2 separate regions of the Homo sapiens genome follow, and region 2 is linked to region 1. The links are contacts of gene promoters, found by promoter capture Hi-C in blood cells and fetal thymus (Javierre and others, 2016). All regions are on one chromosome and are shown on one strand. The core of a region is centred on a gene start or on the middle of the fragment in contact, and the rest is flanking DNA. Distances in the headings are between cores, read along the strand shown. Region 1 holds the start of PSMD1 (proteasome 26S subunit, non-ATPase 1). Region 2 holds the start of B3GNT7 (UDP-GlcNAc:betaGal beta-1,3-N-acetylglucosaminyltransferase 7).

Evidence for each region. The method cuts DNA at HindIII sites, captures the fragments that hold promoters and counts their contacts. A CHiCAGO score of 5 or more calls a contact.
Region 2: the fragment with the promoter of B3GNT7 here is called in contact with the fragment with the promoter of PSMD1 in region 1 in 14 of 17 cell types (M0 macrophages, M1 macrophages, total B cells and 11 more); the score reaches 18.8 in M0 macrophages.

The regions. Positions count from the first base shown.
Region 1 is chr2:231,055,474-231,058,602 of GRCh38, reverse strand. PSMD1 (proteasome 26S subunit, non-ATPase 1) reads right to left here and starts at 1,736. Exons shown (of 25, transcript NM_002807.4): 1 at 1,562-1,736. The coding sequence starts at 1,577. It overlaps LOC112268432 (a long non-coding RNA gene), which reads left to right and starts at 857. Exons shown (of 2, transcript XR_002959456.2): 1 at 857-1,266. RefSeq lists a silencer at 1,646-1,835. The HindIII fragment of the contact is 9,212 bases long and covers 1-3,129 here.
Region 2 is chr2:231,394,377-231,397,751 of GRCh38, reverse strand. It overlaps B3GNT7 (UDP-GlcNAc:betaGal beta-1,3-N-acetylglucosaminyltransferase 7), which reads right to left and starts at 2,042. Exons shown (of 2, transcript NM_145236.3): 1 at 1,938-2,042; 2 at 1-21. The coding sequence starts at 1,948. RefSeq lists enhancers at 431-500, 1-642, 2,911-2,960, 3,256-3,375 and a silencer at 1,891-2,360. The HindIII fragment of the contact is 8,411 bases long and covers 1-2,627 here.

The DNA of each region.
Region 1 (3,129 bases), core at 487-2,986:
CCACAATGGAAGAAGTATCTTGGGGCATACATAAAATACACTAACACTAATGATAGCTAATGAGCTTAAAAAAAAAAAAAAAGGTTTGTATATAATTTTCACGATGTCCGACCACCACAGTAAGAAAAAAAGTCCTCGAATTCAAAGGGTTGGACACGGCTGCTCTAAACACAATGTAAGCACTGGTGGATTGTAAGCAAAGAAGTATTATGTGATTAAAGTTTTAAAAAGCATAGTCCACAAGAAAAACGGGCTGTACGGAGGTAATGGTCGAAAACAAAGCCTTAAGGCTGATATAGTAACCCAGACAAGAGATGAAGGTGGTTTGGGCCGAGTTAGAAGAAACATTGGTAATGGATGGATTTGAAATAGAATGAGGCCTATAGGTGGCAAGAAACTGAGTGTTTATTTGATCTTTACAAAGCTCTGACTGGAAAAACTTCCTGATACTGAACTAAAATTCATCTCGCGATCACTTGTATCTCTTGGGGACAAAAAGTCTTATTTCAGGTACAAGTGACAGCTCTTCAAATGTTTGAAAGTAACTACGTCTCCCAGTATCTCCAACGATCTCCTTAACCAATCCTCATAAAAATAAAGTTTTGATCGCCTTACCATTCAGATTACTGTCTTCTGCTCACCAGTTTGTTTACAATAAAATGCTTTCTTTGTGGGTCAAACACAGAGTAAGAAAATGAGAAAAGGGTATGTAAATAGGCAACGGAAAAAAGCACCAAGGCTCTGGACAGCTATATGCAAGTCAATCTGTAACGGGGAGCTTAAGTCTCCAATTGAAACTTGATCTCTGTAACTTACTCCATTGCAAATGTCACTACGTGAATCTACCTATGCAATGGTTTGCGCGTATGAAACCTGCTCCGCAGATCCATCCATTCTTTCTTGAATGTACAGTCAACAGACTGAGCACATAACCTCGAAAGGGTATAAGTAGGCTCTCAGTATAAAGGTATCTCCAGGGCGTCTTTAGGGTCTTCGCCGAACCCAAAAGTTCTCTGGGTGTTTTGAATGAACACCCTTGGATCGGACCCAGAAATGACCCACCTCAAACCTAATTTCGGGTTTCATTCTAAGGCGAATGGAGCTCGGCCACGTCCAGAAACACTTCTGTAGCAGTTAGGCTGCCCGATCAGGGGGGTTTGCCTTACTGTTCAATGGCACAGGGGCCCATCCCACCCCGGCCCCCTGCGGGCAAGAACTGGGGCTGGACGACCTCACACGGCCAAGAATGGGAGGCACAGAAAAAAGGTAAGCCCTTCTGGGGTCAGGGGAAGGCCCAGGAAGCCCCTCGGGTCCTGGCGCTGGGGTGTGATTGGGGAGGGATGCCGAGGCGGTCGACCCGGCTCGATTCCCTCAAGCCAGAGAAGCACGCAGTGACCTGATCAGACTCCCAGCCCCCCGGCCCGGGGGTGGGCCCTGGGCAGCAAGAAGCTGCCCAGGCCGGCGTTCCGCCGGGAGGCGCCCAGTCACCGGCCCTGACTCAGCTAAAAGCCGGCGCGGCGGCGGCTCCTCCCTCCAGGCGCTGGCTACGGGCCGCACTCACCGGCCGAGGTGATCATGGCTGCGCCCCTCACTCGCCCGTCGGCTCGCTCGCCGTTCCAGCTGCGCAGTGTATCTGTCAGCTCAGGGGCCGCTCAGTTCACCGCGCCTCCTTGCTCCCCGGGTGCGCTGCTCAGTCAGTCGCCTCCTCAGGCCGCCGGCTCGCTTCTCGCCAGGACCCCGCCCGCCCAGGGGCTGCCCGCCACCCCGCCTGCCGCCCGGCGCGAATTCTCCCCTGGCCTGCGTCTTCTGCGCGGCGGTATACTCCCCAGCCCTCGCGGAAGGGTACACAGAGAACACCATTGTTTTCTCTAAACCTCCTCGAGGTCAGGAGTCCCGCGCAACGGAACACTGGTCTGCACCTGAGGTCAGGCATTAGAATGGCCAGCCCTGCAAAGAGAGGACCCCCACCATCACCCGCCATTGCTGAGAGAAAGGGTGTTGAGGGGAGGTGCGAGCATTGCGCGCAGTGCCACCTACTGGTGGGAGGTCTCGCTGCAACACATCTCCCACCAGATAATGCTTAGGGAATTGGGGCTGCCGCAAACAGCGTTTTTTTTTGTTTTTTGTTTTTTTTCCCAGAAAAGTGGCTTTCAATTGTTTTCTAAAGCAAAACCTATCATAAAAAAAAGAAAATCCCCATAGAAGTGCTTTATTATCATAATGAATCCACAAGTAATCATTGGCTTATTATAAAGTTGAACAATGAAGGTTTTTACTTACTTTTGGAAAAATGTCCAGTGTTGTCAATATATTAAAATGTGCAGTAGTTATATGGCGAAAGCCTTTCCAAGGGAGAAAAAATGTCTTCCATTCTTTCCTTCTATCTGCCCAGGTCCTCTTTCCCCCGACGGCAGTGGGTTCTTCGTTTCTAATACATCTTCAGAAATTTGAAATGGCAGTTGCAATGGCCATTTGCAGTCTTATGCTAGCTTCAAGAAGTCAATTTATTTCAAGAGTCAGTACTGAGAAAGTCTTGACAAGGAATAGGGCAAACGGTAGCATTTTTTTCAGCCACCGGCCTTGCACTATCAAGCTAAACTCTTCAATCGCACAGCGATGGCGAGTTCATTTCTACGGCCTTCTACGTAACCTAGGGGCACAATCAATGTCTTGTGGTTGCCAGTGAATTAAATGTGCTTGATAACACATTTTGTTGTATCTGTGACTTTTTTTGTTTAAATTAGAATTCTTAAACTGTGGTTGTTTAAAATATATTAAATATAATTATTGAACATTTTTGAAGAGCCTGTGGCTCAGATTGAAAGGCAGGGCTCGAGAAGATGTGCATGCAAAGTAAACAGATTACTTGGGGTGTCATTCTACAGAGGTACTTCTTTTTTTTTTTTTTTGAGATGGAGTGTCCCTCTGCCACCCAGGCTGTAGGGCAATGGCGCGATCTCGGCTCACTGCAACCTCCGCCTCCTGGGTTCAAGCGATTCTCCTGCTCAGTCTCCCAAGTAGCTGGGACTACAGGTGTATGCCACCACACCCGGCTAATTTTTGTATTTTTAGTAGAGACAGGGTTTCACCATGTTAGCTAGGATGGTCTCGATCTCCTGACCTCATGAT
Region 2 (3,375 bases), core at 793-3,292, 340 kb before region 1:
CTCCGGTAGACGGTTTTCTTCCTGTGGGGGAGAGCGGACAGTACAGAGGAGAGAGAAAAGATGAGCCCAGGGCTCTCCTGGCGCCCCCCTTGGGAGGCTGGGTGGTCCCAGACGGGCAAGTGGACCTGGGCACAGGCTCAGTCCCGGAGTCCCTAAGCTGTCAGGGTAGGGTCCCGCTTCCTCTCCCACCCTGCCCTTTCTTTCTCCCACCCTGCCCTCTCCTCAAGGAGCACTGTGGAATCAGGCCCTGACGCTTACAAGCTGAATGAGTGGTTTACAACCACTCTGAGCCACGATTTCTTCTTCCCCCAAATGGGGCTAAAACACAGGATTGGAGTGCTATATAAAGTACCAGGCAGCGGGTGCACAGTTAGGGGAATGCTGTCACCTTAACAGGAGGGCCTCAGGTGGAAACCTCTGCCCTGTTCCCCACGCCTGGAACCCCAATGCCTTTCATTTCCCTGCGGTGTACCTACCCACAGCAGTAGGTATCGGTATCATTAGGTGACTCAGAGCCAGAGTCATTGAGAGGGCACCCTCTGATCCTCTGTGCCGCCCGGGAGCTCCATCACATGTGGGGCACATTGGAGAGTGGCTCGAGCTTGGGACCTGAGGAAGACTGGCCCTCCTCCCCCTTCTCCAGTCTGTCTCACCCAACAAAGAGCAGCCCTCATGGTTGATGGAGGCCCAAGGATGCAGTGAGCACCTCTAGCATGGCACTGCCCCTCACCCCTACCTTAACATCCCCAGCTCATAACACCCCATTAGAAGACATGAGGCTACAGCTCTACTCCCTGGGAGGGGGCACATTTGCAGCTCCAGCCCTTGAGGGACCCTTCTTGCCCAGAGACCCCCCCACCCCAACCCCGGTCCACACCCATTTCGGAAGCAGAAATTAGAGCTCTCTGCCAGGAGTGCTGGTCGTCCCAAGCCCTGGGGCCTGAGCCCCTGTCCTGAAGGACCTCCTCTCTTCATCTCACCCTCCGGGGGCTGCCAGGACACCTGCCCCACCCTCCCCAGTGGAGACCTGGGGGCTGAGAGCTCTGGGGACAGCAGAGTGGCCTTCCAGGGCCAGCCTAGCAGAGAGATGGCGCTGACCTCCAAGGGGGAGGAGCAGGGTGCCAGGAGAGACAGGCAGCCCGTGGAGACGCCTGGGTTGCCCTGAGGGCTGGTCCGGTTGCAGGTCCAGGCCCCAGGGTGAATGCAGGCTGAGCCCCATAGAGCGACATTTTCCCCATAGGGTCCCCAGGTTGCTGGGGCATGTGGTTGGAGGAAGACAGGGGCACCTTAGGTGCAGGCTGGGGGGTGTGACCCAAGGTCCAGCTCTCCGGGGAGGAAACGGAGGGCTCCGGATCCGGCCCTGCCAGCCCTAGGGGTTCCAGGGAAGCCGCCCACCGAGGCCGGGACGGGGGAGGTCGGGGGGTGCACCGGGAAGGCGGCGAGGCCCTGGGCTGCGGGCGCTCCACCTGCCGGGTCCGCTCCATTCGTAGGGAAAGCCCGGGAGGGGCGGAGAGGGGCCGGGCGGGCGGCGGTCCGAGGTCCCGCGGAAGGAAGCCCCGAGAGGAGGAGAGTGGCCCGGACGCAGGGGGCCCTCAGGGGTCTGGAAGGGAGAGGGGACCCAGCTGCCGGCAAGACCTGGGGTCCCAGCCGCCAGGGTCCTGGAGCGGTGTCCAGGGCCGCGGGGCCGGGGAGCTGAGCGCGGCGCCCCGAGACCCCTCGACGTCCCCCACGGGTCCGGGGCCGCGTACCGCGAACATCTCCCGCCGCCGCCGCCGCGCCCGCCCGCCCATCCGCCCCCGGGAAACTGAGGCCGGCGCGGCGCGCGCGGGGGCATCTCCTATCCCGGGAGTCCCGGCGCCCGTCTGTGGCCACGGAGGAGGGGGAGCCCCGGGCCCACGCCCCCGCCCAGGCCCCCGACGGCCCCCAGCCCCACTCACCACAGCGACATGGCGGCCCGGGCCGGAGCGGCGGAGGGGCGAGCGGCTCGCAGCTCTGGGCGCCACGGCTCGGGCCGGCGGGACGGCGGGCGGGTGGGGACGGAGACCGGGCCGCGCCCCCGCCGCGACTTTCCTCTTCCCGGCCGCGGGAGGAGGGGCCGGCAGGGGCGGTGGCCCAGGTGCCTTAACCCCTTCGGCGCCCAGGGCCCGCCCCGCCGCCGCCTGGCGGGGACCACCCCATTTCTCCGAGACGGCCCCTAGGCTCCCCAAGCGCGCCTAGTAGACAGTGCATGGCCGAGGCGGGGCTTCGGAACCCACGGGGGTCACCTCCAATCCCGGGGACGCCTGTCCCTGGCGGAGCCTCCCGGGGCGGGGGGAGGGCGGTCGCCGGTCCCTCCTGTACTTGTGCGAAACCTGAACACCCGGTCCCCTCCAAGACCCTGGGGCACCCCAAGGCCCAGCCATTTCCCTCTGGCCCCATTCGGACTTGTCTTTGGGGCCAGAGGCAGACAGGGTGTCCTTTTCTCCCTCTGCTACCTTCTGCCCCTGCACCTTTCCCCTGACCAGACGGACCCCTTGCCCAGCTGTTGGGCTACCTAGGGCCAGGAGCAAAGCCAGCCACTAGGGAAAGAGGCCGTATGAGACTGGGCTCCATGTCAGGACTCGCCCAGGCCTGTGGCTCTGGAAGCTTTTTTTGTGCCCCCACCATGTCCCTCTCTTCACCTCTGGGGTTCCTCCCACCTCTGAGGGCTCCCCACCACCAAGGGAAGGCCTGTTGGCCCAGCCCTATCTCCTTTCTTTTTTCACTTATCACTCAAAACCCTTTTTGTCCTCAAGCCTTTATTAGTCTGCTTGTGCACATCAGGCCTAGCGGCTCTGGGGAGTGGGCTGACAGAGAACACGGAGAGGGCTTGGTCCAGCCAGGTGACTTCCAGAATCCTCCAGCAGGGAGAGCCATCGCTGGTCCTGTTGTTGCTCAGGTTGTTCTGGTCTTGTTCCGGGTTGAGGTTTCGGTGCTTAGCATCCAGCAGGACCTCCAAAAGGCCCACAGAATTGAAACGGAAGCACGTTGTGGTCCAATCATAACAGCTAACGTCCACTGAGCAGCTACAATATGCCAAACCTGGTTCTCGGCCCATGCATGACTGGCTCACTTAATCCTAGAGACATACGCTATTATTCCCACCTTACAGGGGAGGAAACGGGGGTGCAGAGGGGAACTCCCAGCCAGCTCAGAGAACAGCGAGCCCAGAGTTAGTAAGCACATCCAGGAGGCCTGCATGGCCTGAAGGCTGGCTCTGAACCCTTCCTGCCTGGTCTGAAGGCTGGCTCTGAGCCCTTCCTCAACCTTTTTTCCTTTCCCAGGGACAGCAGTGACATGGAGCTACTTTCCTGCCCAGCACACAGGGAGGCTAGGAGTCCTCAGCTGGATCTTAAG